Linked DNA regions of Homo sapiens: region 2 is linked to region 1. Evidence: promoter capture Hi-C in human tissues and cell types (Jung and others, 2019). All regions are on one chromosome and are shown on one strand. Each heading gives the region's core, a stretch centred on a gene start or on the middle of the fragment in contact. The rest is flanking DNA. Distances are from core to core; before and after follow the strand shown. Region 1 holds the start of SUMF1 (sulfatase modifying factor 1). Region 2 overlaps ITPR1 (inositol 1,4,5-trisphosphate receptor type 1).

Region 1 (7,482 bases), core at 4,170-6,669:
ACATAAAAAGGACCATTTTAGTCAACTCTTCACTGAAGGTTCAAATTCAAACAATCCATATCTCCTCCAATCTGAAGGTGAGATAACCCCTTCCCTGCCACACCACAGCTTCTGCCACTGCCACTCAAGCCAGAAGCATAAGTGAAGTAAAGAATGACTCTATTATTCATTGGAATAACAGAACCATATGTGGGCTACACACTTAGGCCATGTGCAGTGGGCACTGCTATTTTGGTCCATCCGGCACCCAATCCCTCTACTTCTTGTAAAATACTGAAGTTCCTTTCCAAAACCATTTCTTAAGCTTTCTAAGTGGCCCAGGGGTACTGGATGACTCTATCCTACTTCCCAACCCCCACCAAGCCTGGCCAACCATAGCATTCTTTTGACCACGGAGATGTAATTAGGGATAGGCCCAAGACCCAATCAAAGTTCATCTTTGAACTTTTGCTGGAGCTACCAGGAAAGAACTTTTTCTCTTCTAGTTATCTTATCAGTAGGAGAAGGGACATTACCTGACAATGGAGCCGACTATGCAGAAGAGCCAAGAGATAGCCAAAGAGAAAGGCCTTGGAGATGCTGCCTGAGGCCCTGTATCCAGGTGTGTCTGGGGCCATATTTACTCTTGAACTTCCCAACTAGGGGAGCTATAAATGTCCCTTCCAGTTTTTTCCTGCTTAAGCCAGTCTTGTCTTTTTTTCACTTGCTACCGTAAGATTTTTGTCTTGTACACAAAAATAGAATCAGCTCATACGTAACTTTTTTGTGTAACTTCTCCTTTTCCTTCTTTCCTCTCCTCAACCTTAACATTAAAAGCTAAAGGCTCTTGTTCTGAGTCCCCTCTAATAAAAAATAAAATAAAATAAGCTAAAGGTTCATGAGAAAGCTGGGTGAATAAGAGAAGCATGCTCTCTGGATCTGTCCACAAACTCCTGCCTTATCTATCTATACAGGGCTTATTTATCTATACCATTCTGTCACCCTCCTGCCTCTACAGACAGACACTAATCATAGATGAAATGACATTCAAAGTTTCTTGCAGTTCTGAGCTATATGATTCCTTTAAGCCTCAGTTGCCTCATCTGTAAAGTGGGAGATGATCTCTCTCACAGGATTCTTAGGAGGATGAATACAGCAAAAGAATACTTTACAAATGTTTCTTGAAAAAGTATGTGACCTTCTCTATTCCCAAGGCAGTTTCTCAATACTGTATCCACCAAAAAAGGAAACACAGGTCATTCAAGAAATTATTACAGAATGCCTAAAATGTATAAGGCACGTGGGGGATATAGAGATTAAAACATCTAAAAATGCTTCCAATGTAGAATATCAGACAACTACAAAACTAGCACTACATTAGGGCTGGGCGCGGTGGCTCACGCCTGTAATCCCAGCACTTTGGGAGGCAGAGGCAGGTGGATCACGAAGTCAAAAGATCGAGACAATCCTGGCCAACGTGGTAAAACCCCGTCTCTACTAAAAATACAAAAATTGGCCAGGCGTGGTGGCAGGTGCCTGTAGTCCCAGCTACTTGGGAGGCTGAGGCAGGAGAATCATTTGAACCCAGTAGGCAGAGGTTGCAATGAGCCGAGATTGCACCACTGCACTCCAGCCTGGGTGACAGAGCGAGACTCCGTCTCAAAAACAAAACAAAACAAAACAAAAAAACACTAGCACCATATTGAAGAAAATATACAAGTTGTCATCAAACAACAACAAAATAAGCTATGGGAACTGAGAGGATAGAAAAACTACTTCTTTGTAGGAGGTGGAAAGGTTTCATGGAAGAGACGGCATTCGATTGTGCCTCATTGCCCAGGGAAGCATTACCAGTCAGAAACCTCCTCAGACAGGAAATCAAGACTGACTTTATCCATATGTACAGACATGCCACCTACAATCTTAGCATCCCATGATCCTAAATGCCTTTCAAATAACTCTTCTAAAAGATAAAAGCAGACTAAAACATTTTGCTTCCTTGTTACAAAATCATAACCCACGCAGAAAACTATTAGGATAATTTTCTCAATGAGAATCATATTTTTATAACCAGAGGGAATACACATTAAATTTTTAAACATCTATATTGTTTCCCAGACAATTCTAATCGCCATAACTTTCTAGTGAAACTGAAAATTTCTTGAGGGCAAAGCCCAGTGTTATTTCTCTGTGCCCCTCACCTTGCCACACACACTCATTGTATGAATACACAAAAACAAAAAAAGACTCATCTAAAAAGTGTTACATTAAAAAGTGTGAACATGTCACTCCCAGATCTTAAATCACTTATGTTTCCCAGCACACACCACGCATTTCCACAATGTGCCATGTGTTGATACTATTCTCCTTCTTGGAATGTCCTTGAATCTGGAATTCCATTCCCAGCTCCGAAAAATATTTCCTCCAAGGCCTAGCTCAAATGTGGCCTTTTTTTTTTTGAGGCACTACTCGACTTGTCCATGAAGAATTAATTCTTTCTTCCTCTCCAGGTACTCTGGACATATCCCTCCTATAGTATTCTCACTATAGAAAAATGATACTTATGTGTGTGTCTGTGTGTGTTTGTGTGTGTGTGTGTGTGTGAGAGAGAGAGAAACACCTACCAGAGTGTAAATGCCATGTGGGTAGTGTATGGGTCTTTTTCTGTATGCCCAGCACATAGGATGAATCTTACATAACAAGTGTTATATAGTAATGTGCCAAATAAACATTTGTTTAATTAAACCAAATAAACAGAAAACAAAGAGGGGAAAAAAGGCAGAAACACCACTATGCTCATTTACTTCTCCTGAAATATTGGAGTTCCTGAATTTAGAATAAATGGTAAAGTGTCAGAATTAGACCAAAGTCATCTGCACATGAACTAAAACATTTGAAACCAAGGAAAATAGAGAGATTAAGAACAGCCTCCTATGACGTCATTGTCTTGATAACAAGACTGCTTCAGTTTCAGTCATTAAGTTCAGCCCTTGAAGGCTTGAAGGTATATTCTCATCAACCACTAATTTGTTAATAAATTGAGATGCCCCTAAGCATTGTAGAAAGCAGACTATAAGAACTGGCCAAAGATGGCCCATATAGCATCCAGTCAAGACACAAAACCACTCTATAGGGATGAAAAATGTACATCTTGTAAATGTAATCCAAAAGATTCTAACATCCACATCCCATTCTGGAACCCAGAGGAAAATAGAATGTTTAAAAATGAAAAATGTTCAATGCTTGCCAGAGGAATCTAGATAAAATTTTGAGACAGACCAATGTATATATGCAAATGAGATGGCTGCCCTATTAAAAAATAGATAAACAGATGTAAGGATTTCTCCTTAGAAAGAGGGACAGACTGGCTTGGCGCGGTGGCTCACGTTTGTAATCCCAGCACGCTGGGAGGCCAAGGCAAGCGGATCACAAGGTCAGGAGATTGAGACCATCCGGGCCAACATGGTGAAACCCCATCTCTATTAAAAATACAAAAATTAGCTGGGTATGGTGGCGTGTGCCTGTAATCCCAGCTACTTGGGAGGCTGAGGCAGGAAGGAGAATCATTCGAACCCAGGAGGTGGAGATTGCAGTGAGCGGAGATCGCGCCACTGCACTCCAGCCTGGTGACAGAGCGAGACTCCGTCTAAAAAAAAAAAAAAGAAAAGAAAAAAGAAAGAGAGATTGATTATCAATTACCAGGCAAGTTAGAGAGGAATTAATATCAAGTATGGCCAATACACACTAAAACAGTAATCAGGAGTCTTCAACACACAAAAGATAAACAGTACTGCAGGACATGCTCTAAGGGTAACAGGAAAAAAAGTAAAGGCCAAAAATTATACAGGATGGAAAAACAATGAGAAGCCCAGGTATCAACCTCCTACACTCTACACCTGAGAGACTAAATCATGGTCCTGACCCCATCACCCTCACAGTCCAGTTGGGGAGAGACATCAGCAGAAAAACATCTTTAATAATTGTTATGTCAGAATAAACACATAACTACTGAGGCAGGATACGGAAATATTGAAGGGGAGAGAAAGAGGAGATCAGGTAAAACCTACTGTGGATGTTACCTCTCACCTAAGTCCTAAATATTGGTCAGGATTAACCCAAAGGAAAGAAAAATGGAATGGGAAAAGGATAGTGTCTGCTAAGTAAACAAGAAGGAGCACTAGTTTAGGAGTCAGAAGACCTGACCTTTAGACCCATAAGTTGTTTCGACAACACATCAATATGCAAAATACCGGGCAGACAGATTGAAGTAACAGTTATTTCTTTCTTTCTTTTTTTTTTTCGAGACGGAGTCTCGCCCTGTCGCCCAGGCTGGAGTGCAGTGGCAAGATCTCGGCTCACTGCAACCTCCGCCTCCCGGGTTCCAGCAATTCTCCTGCCTCAGCCTCCCGAGTAGCTGGGATTACAGGCGCCCGCCACCACGCCCGGCTAATTTTTGTATTTTTAGTAGAGACGGGGTTTCGCCATGTTGGCCAGGCTGGTCTCGAACTCCTGACCTCGTGATCCGCGCGCTTCGGCCTCCCAAAGTGCTGGGATTACAGGCATGTGAGCCACCGCGCCCGGCCAGTAAGTTATTTATATATCCCGGCACCTAACACATACAGGCGCTAAGCAAGACAGATAAATAATAGCAATAAAACAACTACAGTTTGCTTAGCCCTTCCTAAGTGCTAAAGTGCTAAGAATAGCAGGATAAACAATTCAAGCCCTTGTCCTCAAGCAGAGTGTACTCGAGGAGACTACAGATAAGTATACAACAACCCTGGTGAAGATACTGAGACCCAGGATCCTAATTTATTCCGTTAATAAGAGAGGAAATGGTGATTTAAACCATAATTTGATTGCCTTAAAATTATGAGATCCTCATTAAGAGAACAGGTTGGAGGGAGAAAGAAATAGGGGGTAAAGAAGTAACAATAACCCTCAAACCAAACTCCCTAATGGTCAATTAAATGGAGTCTTCCGGTGAGGCACGGAGAAGGAACTCCTCATACGGGAACAGCAGGTGCTCGATTTGGGGTGTGGTTATAACCTTTACTTCCCTTCCTACTAGTGCCTTGCTTTGCCTACTCCAACCCCGTCCAGGAACCGAGCAGCCCCCACCCGCCTCGGAGGAATCGATGGAGCACCTTTGAGTGCGCGAGTTGCCGCTCTCCGGGTACGGGGCCCGGAGCGTTAGCCTCCCGCGAGTATCGGTGAGCGGCTGCCGAACTGCCATGGGCGCCAGGCCGCTGGGGCGTGCCGCAGCCGCAAGAACCCGCAAGGGACCCCGCGCCCGCACCGGTCCCGGCCTCCTGGCTCCCTGCCGCTCCACACAGCAGCGAGAGCAGCAGCAGCAAGAGGACGAGACCCAGCTCAGGGCAACGTCCACACACCAGCCCTAGTGCGGGCGCAGCCATGTTGTCCCGCGGGCCATGTGACCCGGTTGGTCACGTGGCTGAGCCCTCCTTAAAGGGGCAGAATTTTGAGCTGACTTACGAAGTGACCAGGAGAGTTGCTCTTCACCTTTCTTCAGGTACTTCTTTGGCGCTGCTGCTTGCCTGTGCTAACGTCAAAACGCAGCAAAACACAAAACTCCACAAAACTCAAGGCCTTCCACAGACCGTGCACCCCTTTATGATTTCTTGGTTGAAAAATAACAGTCAAATTTGCTGGGCATTTGGTAAGTGCCAGAGTACTATGCTAAGCACTTCACTTTTTAAAATCTCATTTAATCCTCACAAAGACCCAGTAATGGCGCGCTTGTAGTCCCAGCTAGTCGGGAGGCCAAGGCAGGAGAATCGTTTGAACCTGGGAGGCGGAGGTTTCAGTGAGCCCAGATCCCGCCACTGCACTCCAGCCTCGGCGACAGAGCAAGACTCCGTCTCAAAAAAAAAAGAGAAATACAATACGGAATCAGAATCCGTGGGGACTGGACACAGCAATCCAGGGTTTCACAAGCTCTCCAGATGATTCTAATCCACACTTAAGTTTAAGAACCACTGTTCTACAGTTCCGTAATCGAACAAAATGCAAAACCAAAACAAAAAGAAGATGAAGGAGAAACTTACAGATTAAAAAACAACATAGCAGGCCGGGCGCGGTGGCTCAAGCCTGTAATCCCAGCACTTTGGGAGGCCGAGGCGGGTGGATCACGAGGTCAGGAGATCGAGACCATCCTGGCTAACACGGTGAAACCCCATCTCTACTAAAAAATACAAAAAATTAGCCCGGCGTGGTGGCACGCGCCTGTAGTCCCAGCTACTCGGGAGGCTGAGGCAGGAGAATGGCATGAATCCGGGAGGTGGAGCTTGCAGTGAGCCGAGATGGCGCCACCGCACTCCAGCCTGGGGACAGAGCAAGACTCCATCTGAAAAAAAAAAAAAAAAAAAAAACATAGCAGCCAGCTGCAATATGTGAACCTTATCTAAATACTAATTCAAACCTACTGAGTTCAAAATTTTTGAGATAATCAGGGAAATTTAACCACTAAGTCAAATTATAATATTTGATAAAATTAAGGAATTGCTGTAAATTTTGTTTTTAGGCTTTTAGGAGTAATAATGGTATTTGTGGCTATATTTTTTAAAAGAATCCCCTCACTGAGGTACACACACACTCACTGAGGTATACACACACACACACACACACACACACATATATATATATGGATAAAAATATAGGCAGTCAAAGATTTGCTTCCCAAAAAATGGGTAATCAGGGTCTGGCTAAAGATGAAGCATGATTGGCCATGAGTTGATAACTGTCATAGCTGGTTGATGGGCATCTGGGTGTTTATTGCACTATTCTAATGTAGCATCTGTTTGAATTTTTTTAGCATAAAGAAAAGACCAGCCAGGCACCGTGTCTCAAGCCTGTAATCCCAGCACTTTAGGAGGCCGAGGCAGGAGAATCGCTAGAGGCCAGGAGCTTGAGACCAGCCTGGGCAACACAGCAAGACCTTGTCTCTACAAAAAATTAAGAAAATTAACTGGCCATGGTGACGCACACCGGTGGTCCTGGCTACTTCGGAGGCTGAGGCAGGAGGATCACTTGAGCCTGGTAGGCAGAGGCTGCAGTGAGCCATGATTGTGCCACTGCACTCCAGCCTGGGTGACAAAGTGAGACCATCTCTCAAAAAAAAAAAAAAGGCCTTTTCTCCTTGTTGACTATTTTACAGTTTGCCAAGGCCTTTCACACATTTTCTCATTTGAGATTACAACCACTTGGCAAGAAATGTATTATTACTATACTCATTTCAAAATTGATGAAGCTAAAAGGTCAATGCCTTAACCAAGGTTGTATGTATTTACTGTGCATAATATATAGTCAAGGTCTAGGTCAACGGTAATCTTTGTTCGCCTCCTTCAAATATCAGTCTCAGCACATGCTGTGTCAGCTGCGCTTCAGAGACCTGAACTTCTTTGATTCCTGGTCCAGCTATACCATTAGGCTATAACCTCCATGAAGGTAAGGCAGGAGCCTATTCGTTTGCCACTGTATCAG
Region 2 (7,806 bases), core at 1,894-4,393, 130 kb after region 1:
TGACTGTATGTTTTTCTTTGAAACTGGCCTAAGTGCAGCCTGCCCTGCCACTCCCACAACCACTCAACTGATGAAGGTGATACCAGAAATGAAATCAGATCCCCTGATTTATTGCAGGGGGTGGGGGCGTTTGCTGTGAATACCAGCAGCGGTTACAGAATTGTGACACGTCCAAATTACAGACAAATGCTCTTCTCAAAACTTCTCTGCACTTTGGAAAGCTCTGCATTTCACCGAGCTTAAGTTGCTATCTATGTATCTATACTTCAGGTAAGTTTCTACAGCGAAATTTCCTGATGAGCCAAGAATTAAGCAAAAGTTCCTTAGAGTTTATTGTAAACGGTCTGACTTTATGGTAAAAAGCCAAGGCTTTTTACCATAAGATAAACTCTTTCCATGAGTTTTTCTTTCCTGCTTTTAAAGTATTAGTTTTTAAAAATGTTTATGTCTACTCTGTATTTATCATCTTTGGTTCCAAATCGCAGACTTATTAGCTGAGTGAAGTAATAGTCTGTTCACTATATACAATGGTGTTTGTTGCTTTACTAATCACTTATTTAAAGCTAGCACGGTTGGAACATGGGGTTTATTTGTGTTTCAAAAGGCTTAGCAACTGGTGGTCACAGATGGGTTTTTAGTTATCTGAACCAGGTTGTTATTGTAATAAAGGTATAAAGTGTCACCTTTTTGGTTTGAGGTCATATGGGTTATATGACTGCCTCTGCTAGAATCCTTTTAATTCTGGTAGATGGAACTGTCTTTCCTCCCTGAAATCTTAGCCTCTTGTGATCAGAGCTGCTCGTTAGCTGCTGGTCTTCCCACAGTCACCTTTCATTTGTATACCCTGGCAGTGTTTAAACCCCAACTCCTCCATGCTCATTATATAGGGCAAGCCAGATGTCACTCCCTGGGGGAATAGGAATCTGGTTGTAATTCACATGGAAACAAGTTGACTTTATATTGTTTCTCTGGGTCAGTAAAAGTACGTCACCTTTTAGAGGCTGATAGTTTTAGTGTGTTGATATGTTACCAGGGGTTTGCCGCTTACTGTATGTTCAGCAAAAGAGAGTTAGGATTGTAGAGCATTGAGTGAGTACATTTGCTCAGAGAGGACTGCGTGAGAAAAGGAACTATGTGGCCTGTCTGAAGGGGTCTTCTTATTCGCCTCCAGCTTCTTGCTGCCATGCAGAAATATGAGCCCCGTGGTGCCAAATCCTGGTTCATTTGTTTTGTTTGTTTTTTAAGGAAAAGATGTGGAGGTGGATTTGAATGTGAAATTGCCCTCTTTTAAAAATAGTGGCAATTAATACCAGCCTGTTTAAAACATTGTGTAGGCCAGATAGAATGTTGTCTGTGAGCTGGATTTGGCTTGAAGTCAACCAGCTGGCAAATTTTGCTTAAGGTAATGTTTTTTAAATGAAGCTACTATTAGTCCAGTAAATATATCCAGATGTGCAGAACAGCAAGTAAGGTTTTATGGGGATTTGGGTGTATGTAGATGATGAAGACGTCATTTGAGCCCCCACGGAGACTGTAGTGTGGTAAGGAAATGACACAGTAATCCGAGGCCGTATAGAAGTATCCTAAGAGAGGGAAGACAAAAGGGTGTTGGAATTTCCCAAGTTGGAGAGATGACTTCTGGCTGGCATCACCGAGGGAAAGGGGCATTTGGGCTCCTCTGTGAAAGAGATGAGGCAAGGGGGCACATTCTAGGCACCAGGGAGTGTGCATCAAATTGTAGAAATGAGAGAGAAAGCAAGCTGTGTTTTGGAAGTGGTCAGTGACCCGGTTTGGCTAGAGGTAAAGTCCAGGTTAACTTTGATCTGGAAACTGCAACCTGGTGTGATATGTGATCCTATTTAGCCATTGTTCATTGCAGGTAACCTCCTAGCTTGGCAGACCATTCCTGGCTGTCTGGCCAGAGTTTAAAGTATACAGAGTCACAGTGGCCTTCTCACTAGTGTTCATGCCTGAACTTGGTTTTGCAAACATCTGTGGAGACCAATCCCATGTACTAGGAGGCAGATAGTATTAGAAGACTCAGATTCAGAGAGCTAGGTTGATAAACCATCCTTCAGCTTTCCTGCGGTGTGATTCTGTGACTGAGTGCCTGCTGAGTCTTCCGTTTCCTGCGTCTTATTGGTTGGCACATGGCATGGGCCTTTAGCACCTATGCAGGGTCTATGGGGCCTTGCATGGCTAGAACTTTAGTGCTTCCTCTCAGTTAAAATTTGTACCATCCTTCCCCTCTCCCCTGGTTGAAAGGAAGCAAATCCTCCTCTGTGACCTGTCATTGGCTTCTGTGCATGTCATATGGTAGTAATCTCTTTAACCAGGATGTGTGATACTTGAGTGTAGCAAGGAGGTCCTCTCCTCACTTAGGGGAGACCCTTGTTTGAACAGAGAATTAAAAAATAAAGGCAGGCTGGGTGCAGTGGCTCACGCCTATAATCTCAGCACTTTGGGAGAATGAAGTGGGTGAATCAGTTGAGCCCAGAAGTTTGAGACCAGCCTGGGCAATGCAGTGAGACCCCGTCTCTACAAAAAAATACAAAAATTAGCTGGGTGTGGTGGTGGGTGCCTGTGATCCCAGCTACTCGGTGGGGCCGAGACAGGAGGATTGCTTGAGCTCGGGAGGTTGAGGTTGCAGTGAGCCATGATCACACCACTGCACTTCAGCCTGGGAGATGGAGCTAGACCCTGTCTTAAAAAAAATGCAGAAAAGTTTTAGGAAATATGGTTATCACTTCTGCCTTTAAGATGTTCATAAGTGGCTGAGTTATATATTAAAGGCTCTGTGAAGTCTTGCAATAAAGAAATTGTCCCAACTTTGTCCCAATGTAGTTTTCCAAAATTATACCTAAAAATTTGGGCTCTAAATCAGAGTGTTTCAATTCAGGTGCAATTTTATGTCATTTCCTGAACTTCTCTGAATCTCACTTTACTCTGAGAACATCGTCAAACCCACTGGGTGTCCCGGTACCTCTCACAGTGGCCATATCCACTATTTTTCCTCTTTTGTACAGTGTGGCTTCCAGAACTAAAGGTCATATTCTAGGTGTGGTCTATAGTGCACAGGATCATTACTGATGAGCTTTTTTTTTTTTTTCATCTTTTCTGGCTATCACCTAATTTTGGGAAAAACCTATTGAAATGTTCTCACTTGGAGACTAATATTGAGAATACTTACTGAGGGTTTCCTATGGGTAAAATATTTCATTTTTACTACAGTCCTCAGATGGGGATCCTTTATTGTTAGTCCCGGTTTGCTGATATGGATATGGGATCTCAGAGAGGTTGAATATGTTGCCTGCGGTCACAGAGCTAGTAACCACAGAGCCTGTGTTCATGGCCTTCACTCTCTGTAGCTGCAAATCAGCAGCTCATAGGCTGACTCCTGCTCACGCTTGTTTTTTGTTTAACTTGCACAGTGTTTTAAAATCTGAGTTAATTGGTTTACCCTTACAGTTTGGGAGATTTTACATAAAAAACAAATTTCTGGCTTTTGGGGGAAAATGCAGAAAATCTAGCCACAGTGGATTAGCATTGCCAGATGACAACAAGTGTCAGAAACTAAGTAAAGCTTTCTTCTTTTGAGGGGAGAAGGACTTTTACAGTCTTGCCAACATCCTACTTCCTTTGGTCCTCACCTTACAGTTCTTGAGTGATGGCTGTAGGCAGTTGGGTTTGTGATGCTGTACTTGATTGATGAAAACTGGGAACAAGAGAAGCAGTGAACTCTAAACGTGAAAATGGTTGAATGAAGGACCTTGGTTGCAGCAAGCCTTCCCCTACTCCGACAGTGGCTGCTGTTTTTGCAGCTGAGTTCTGCAGTGTGTTGGACTTGACTTCCCTGATACCAGCAGGAGGCACATGTGTGATATACTCTCCACTGGATCAGTCTTGGAGTGGACAGTGTCAGGTTGGAGTGCCAATATGTAGGGTGTTGGATATAGTTGTCAGTTTTGACGTATGTATGAAACCGTGAAACTCACCACAGGATAATGAAGATCTTAGTCTCTCCCAGAAGTCTCCTCCTGCCCATTGGTTGTCCCTACTCCCTCCTTCCTACACTGGTACATGCCCCCAGGAAGCCTGATGTGCTTTATCGCTGTTATTTGCATTTCCTAGCATTGTATGTACAAATGGAATTGTACAGCAAGTCTTCTCTTTTGCCCGAGCTCTTTCACATAGCATAAGTATGTTACAATACATTTGTGTTGTATGCATCAATAGTTTATTTAGTCTTTTTGTCTTTTTTAAAAATTTTACCTCTGTGGCATTGTTTCATTGCATACCACAGTTTCCACTCAAGGCAGATTTTTGGACATGCTGGCCCCCAGTTTCTGGTACCCACAGCCATTCATTCTACACATCCCTCAAGTTCCCTTGTGAATTAGAACTGGTGTTGAGGATTTCTGTGGTCGTGTATTGATTCTGTGATTCTAAGGAGATTCCGAGCCCCAGGTTTTGTTGTGGGTGGTCTTGCTGGGGATACTGTGGATGGGCTCTTTGAGGGCCCACAGGCTGGAGCTCGGAAAGGGTACCATCTCTACGGACCTTCCTGTTTTGTGTGTGTGTGTGTGCGTGTTTGTGTGTGTGTCTGTGTCTGTTTTGAGAAGAATTTAAATAGCTTTAATTTTTCGCCTCTAAATTGAGAACATTTTCCTGGCATTTGTCAAATATATGTGAATGTTTGTGTCTTCTACGTAAAATGATAGTCCGTGGACTGTTTAGTAACTGTAATGTGGGGATTATGGTGTGAAGGGTGGCATTTTGGGAATGTGAAGTTGATGGTAGACATATTCCTTGGGAGGTCAGGATTGGGTCACATGAGCTAATTTCCTGTCGCTCTAAAATTGATTCACTCCCCACCCCCAACAAGGGCGACTCCCACAGAATGTCAGTAGCCATCAGACAATGCAGGAATGGAGAAATAAAAATATGAGCACTATTTAATTTGTTGATTGTGTGGGGACAACTCATGACAGCACACCATGATTTTTGTGTTGTTCAGAGATATTCATTCATTGTTAAGTTGCATTTCTTCCTGGAGTAAATTAATTCTTTTCAGAAAGTAAATATTTTCTGAGTAACTAATTGAGGAATTCTGTTCTTCTTTTGTTAGTGGTGGTGGGCTGTGGAGAGGGTTTGGTAGACATGAATCACCTGTTAGATGTAAAGGGGAAGGAAACCCATAATTTATGGTCAATTGATTTTTCAACATAGATATCAGAACAATTAAATGGGGAAAAATATTCTTTTTTTTTTTTTTTTTGGCACTGGGGCAACTGGATTTCCACATGCAAAAAAGTAAAGTTGAGCCAGGCTCATTGGCTCCTGCCTGTAATCCCAGTACTTTGGGAGGCCAAGGTGGGAGAATCACTTGAGCCCAGGAGTTCGAACCCAGCCTGGGCAACATGGTGAAACCCTATGTGTGCAAAAAATACAAAAATTAGCCAGGCATGGTTGCATACACCTGTAGTCCCAGCTACTCGGGAGGCTGAGGTGGGAGGATCACCTGAGCCCAGGAGGTCGAGGCTGCACTGCACTGTAGCCTGGGCAATGGAGTGAGACCCTGTCTCAAAAAAAAAAAAAAAAGTGTTGAACACCTACCTCACACTGTATGCAAAAGTTAACTCAAAATGAATCAAAGCTCTAAATATAAGAGCTAAAACTATACACCTCCTAGAAGAAAACATAGGTGTAAATCTTCATGGTCCTGAATTGGGTGACAGGTTCTTAATATGACACCAACAGCATAAGCAATAAAAGAAAATTAGATAAATTGCACTTCGTCAAAATTAAAACCTTTCCTGCTTCAAAGGATACTGTCTAGTGAAGAGACAACTCATAGAAAAGTAGACAATACTTTCAATTTTTTTTATGATATGGGACCAGTATATAGAGTATATAAAGACTTCTCACAGCTCAATAGTAAAAGACAAATAGCCCAATTTAAAAATAGGAAAAAGATTTGAATAGACGTTTCTCCAAAGAAAACATATAAATGGCTAATAAGCACATGCAGAAATGTTCAGTAGCATTAGTCATTAGGGAAATGCAAATCAAAATCACAGTGAGAAATCCCTAGGATGGCTAGAGTAAAAAAGATGTACAATAATAAGCAGTGGTGAGAATGTGGAGAAATGGCAACTCTCACACATTGCTGGCAGGATTGAAAATGACACAACCACTTTGTAAAAGTTAGGCAATTCCTCAAAAGGTTAAACATAGAGTTACTATATGATTCAGCAGTTTCACTCCTTAGGGATATACCCAAATGAATTGAAAACATACGTCTACATAAAAACTTGTACACGAGCCAGGTGCACCTATTTACACCTACAATTTCAGCACTTTGGGAGGCCAAGGTGGGTGGATTGCTTGGGCCCAGGAGTTTGAGACTAGCCTAGGCAACATGGCAAAACCCTGTCTCTGCTAACAACAACAACAACAAAAAATTAGCCAGGCATGGTGGTGTGCACCTGTAGTCCCAGCTATTCAGGAGACTGAGGTGGGAGAATGACCCGGGCCTAGGAGGTCAAGGCTGCAGTGAGCTGACATTGCACCATTGCACTCTAGCCTGGGTAATGGGAGTGAGACCCTCTCAGAAAAAAAAAAAAAAAAAAAAACTTGTACATAAACATTTATAGCAACATTATTCATCGTAGCTAAAAAGTAGAAACAACTCAAATGTCCATCAGCTAATAAGTGGATTTTAAAAAGGGTTGTAGACACACAGTGGAATATTATTCAGTCATAAAAAGGAATGAAGTGCCAGTACCTGCTACAACATGCATGAACCTTGCAAACCTCGTGCTAAGTGAAAGAAGCCTGTCACAAAAAGGCTACCTATTTTGTGATTCTATTTATGTAAAATACCGAGAATTCATAGAGACAGACACTAGATAACTGGGCTCTTGAGAGAAGGGGAGAATGGGGAGTGACTATTAATGGGTATAGGATGTTTTTGTGGGGGATAATGCAAATGTTCTGGAATTCGATAGTGGTGGTGGTACCAATCTGTGGATTTTCTAAAAACTGCTGAGTTGTACTCTGAATTTTGTTGGATGTGAACAATATCTCAATAAAAATGACTACATGTAAAAAATGTTCAAGCTTACTGGTAACAAAATATATGCAGATGAAACAACAGGCATCAAATAAAATAATAAAACATCCACTTTTGACTACAAAACAAGTGAAAAAAGTGATAAAGGGGAAGGAAATAAGGCAAGACTTGCTTTTTAGATGACAGGCATTTTTTATTTTGTTTTTTTTACAGTCAGCTATAATTTTTAAAATTATTTCTTTATTTTTAAAATTTCAACTTTTATTTTAGATTCATGAGGCACATGTGCAGGTTTATTACATGAGTATATTGCATGATGCTGAGGTTTGGGGTATGAATGATCACCCAGGTTGTGAGCATAGCACCCAATAGGTAGTTTTTCAGCCCTCACTCCCTGGTCCATATGTACCACATTTTCTTTTCTTTTCTTTTTTATTTTTGGTTTTGTTTTTGTTTTTGAGACAGAGTCTCCTTCTGTCACCCAGGCTGGAGTGCAGTGGTGCAATCTCGGCTCACTGCAACCTCCACCTCCTGGGTTCAAGCAATTCTCCTGCCTCAGCCTCCTGAGTAGCTGGGACTACAGGGGCGCGCCACCACACCTAGCTAATTTTTGTGTTTTTAGTAGAGACAGGGTTTCACCCTGTTGGACAGGATGGTCTTGATTTCCTGACCTCGTGTTCCACCCGCCTTGGCCTCCAAAAGTGCTGGGATTACAGGTGTGATGTACCACA

The links. The method cuts DNA at HindIII sites, captures the fragments that hold promoters and counts their contacts. A contact is called where the count stands out against the background at its distance.
Region 2: a fragment that was not itself captured here is called in contact with the fragment with the promoter of SUMF1 in region 1 in 1 of the 25 tissues and cell types used here (liver).

The regions. Positions count from the first base shown.
Region 1 is chr3:4,461,850-4,469,331 of GRCh38, forward strand. It overlaps SUMF1 (sulfatase modifying factor 1), which reads right to left and starts at 5,420. Exons shown (of 9, transcript NM_182760.4): 1 at 5,127-5,420. The coding sequence starts at 5,396. It overlaps LOC124909340 (a long non-coding RNA gene), which reads left to right and starts at 4,975. Exons shown (of 2, transcript XR_007095789.1): 1 at 4,975-5,659; 2 at 6,815-7,482. RefSeq lists a silencer at 5,117-5,296 and an enhancer at 5,467-5,646. The HindIII fragment of the contact is 11,378 bases long and covers 1-7,482 here.
Region 2 is chr3:4,595,915-4,603,720 of GRCh38, forward strand. The region is part of intron 4 of ITPR1 (inositol 1,4,5-trisphosphate receptor type 1); the gene reads left to right. Among named protein-coding and RNA genes, the nearest start is that of ITPR1, 110 kb to the left of the region's middle. The HindIII fragment of the contact is 4,418 bases long and covers 935-5,352 here.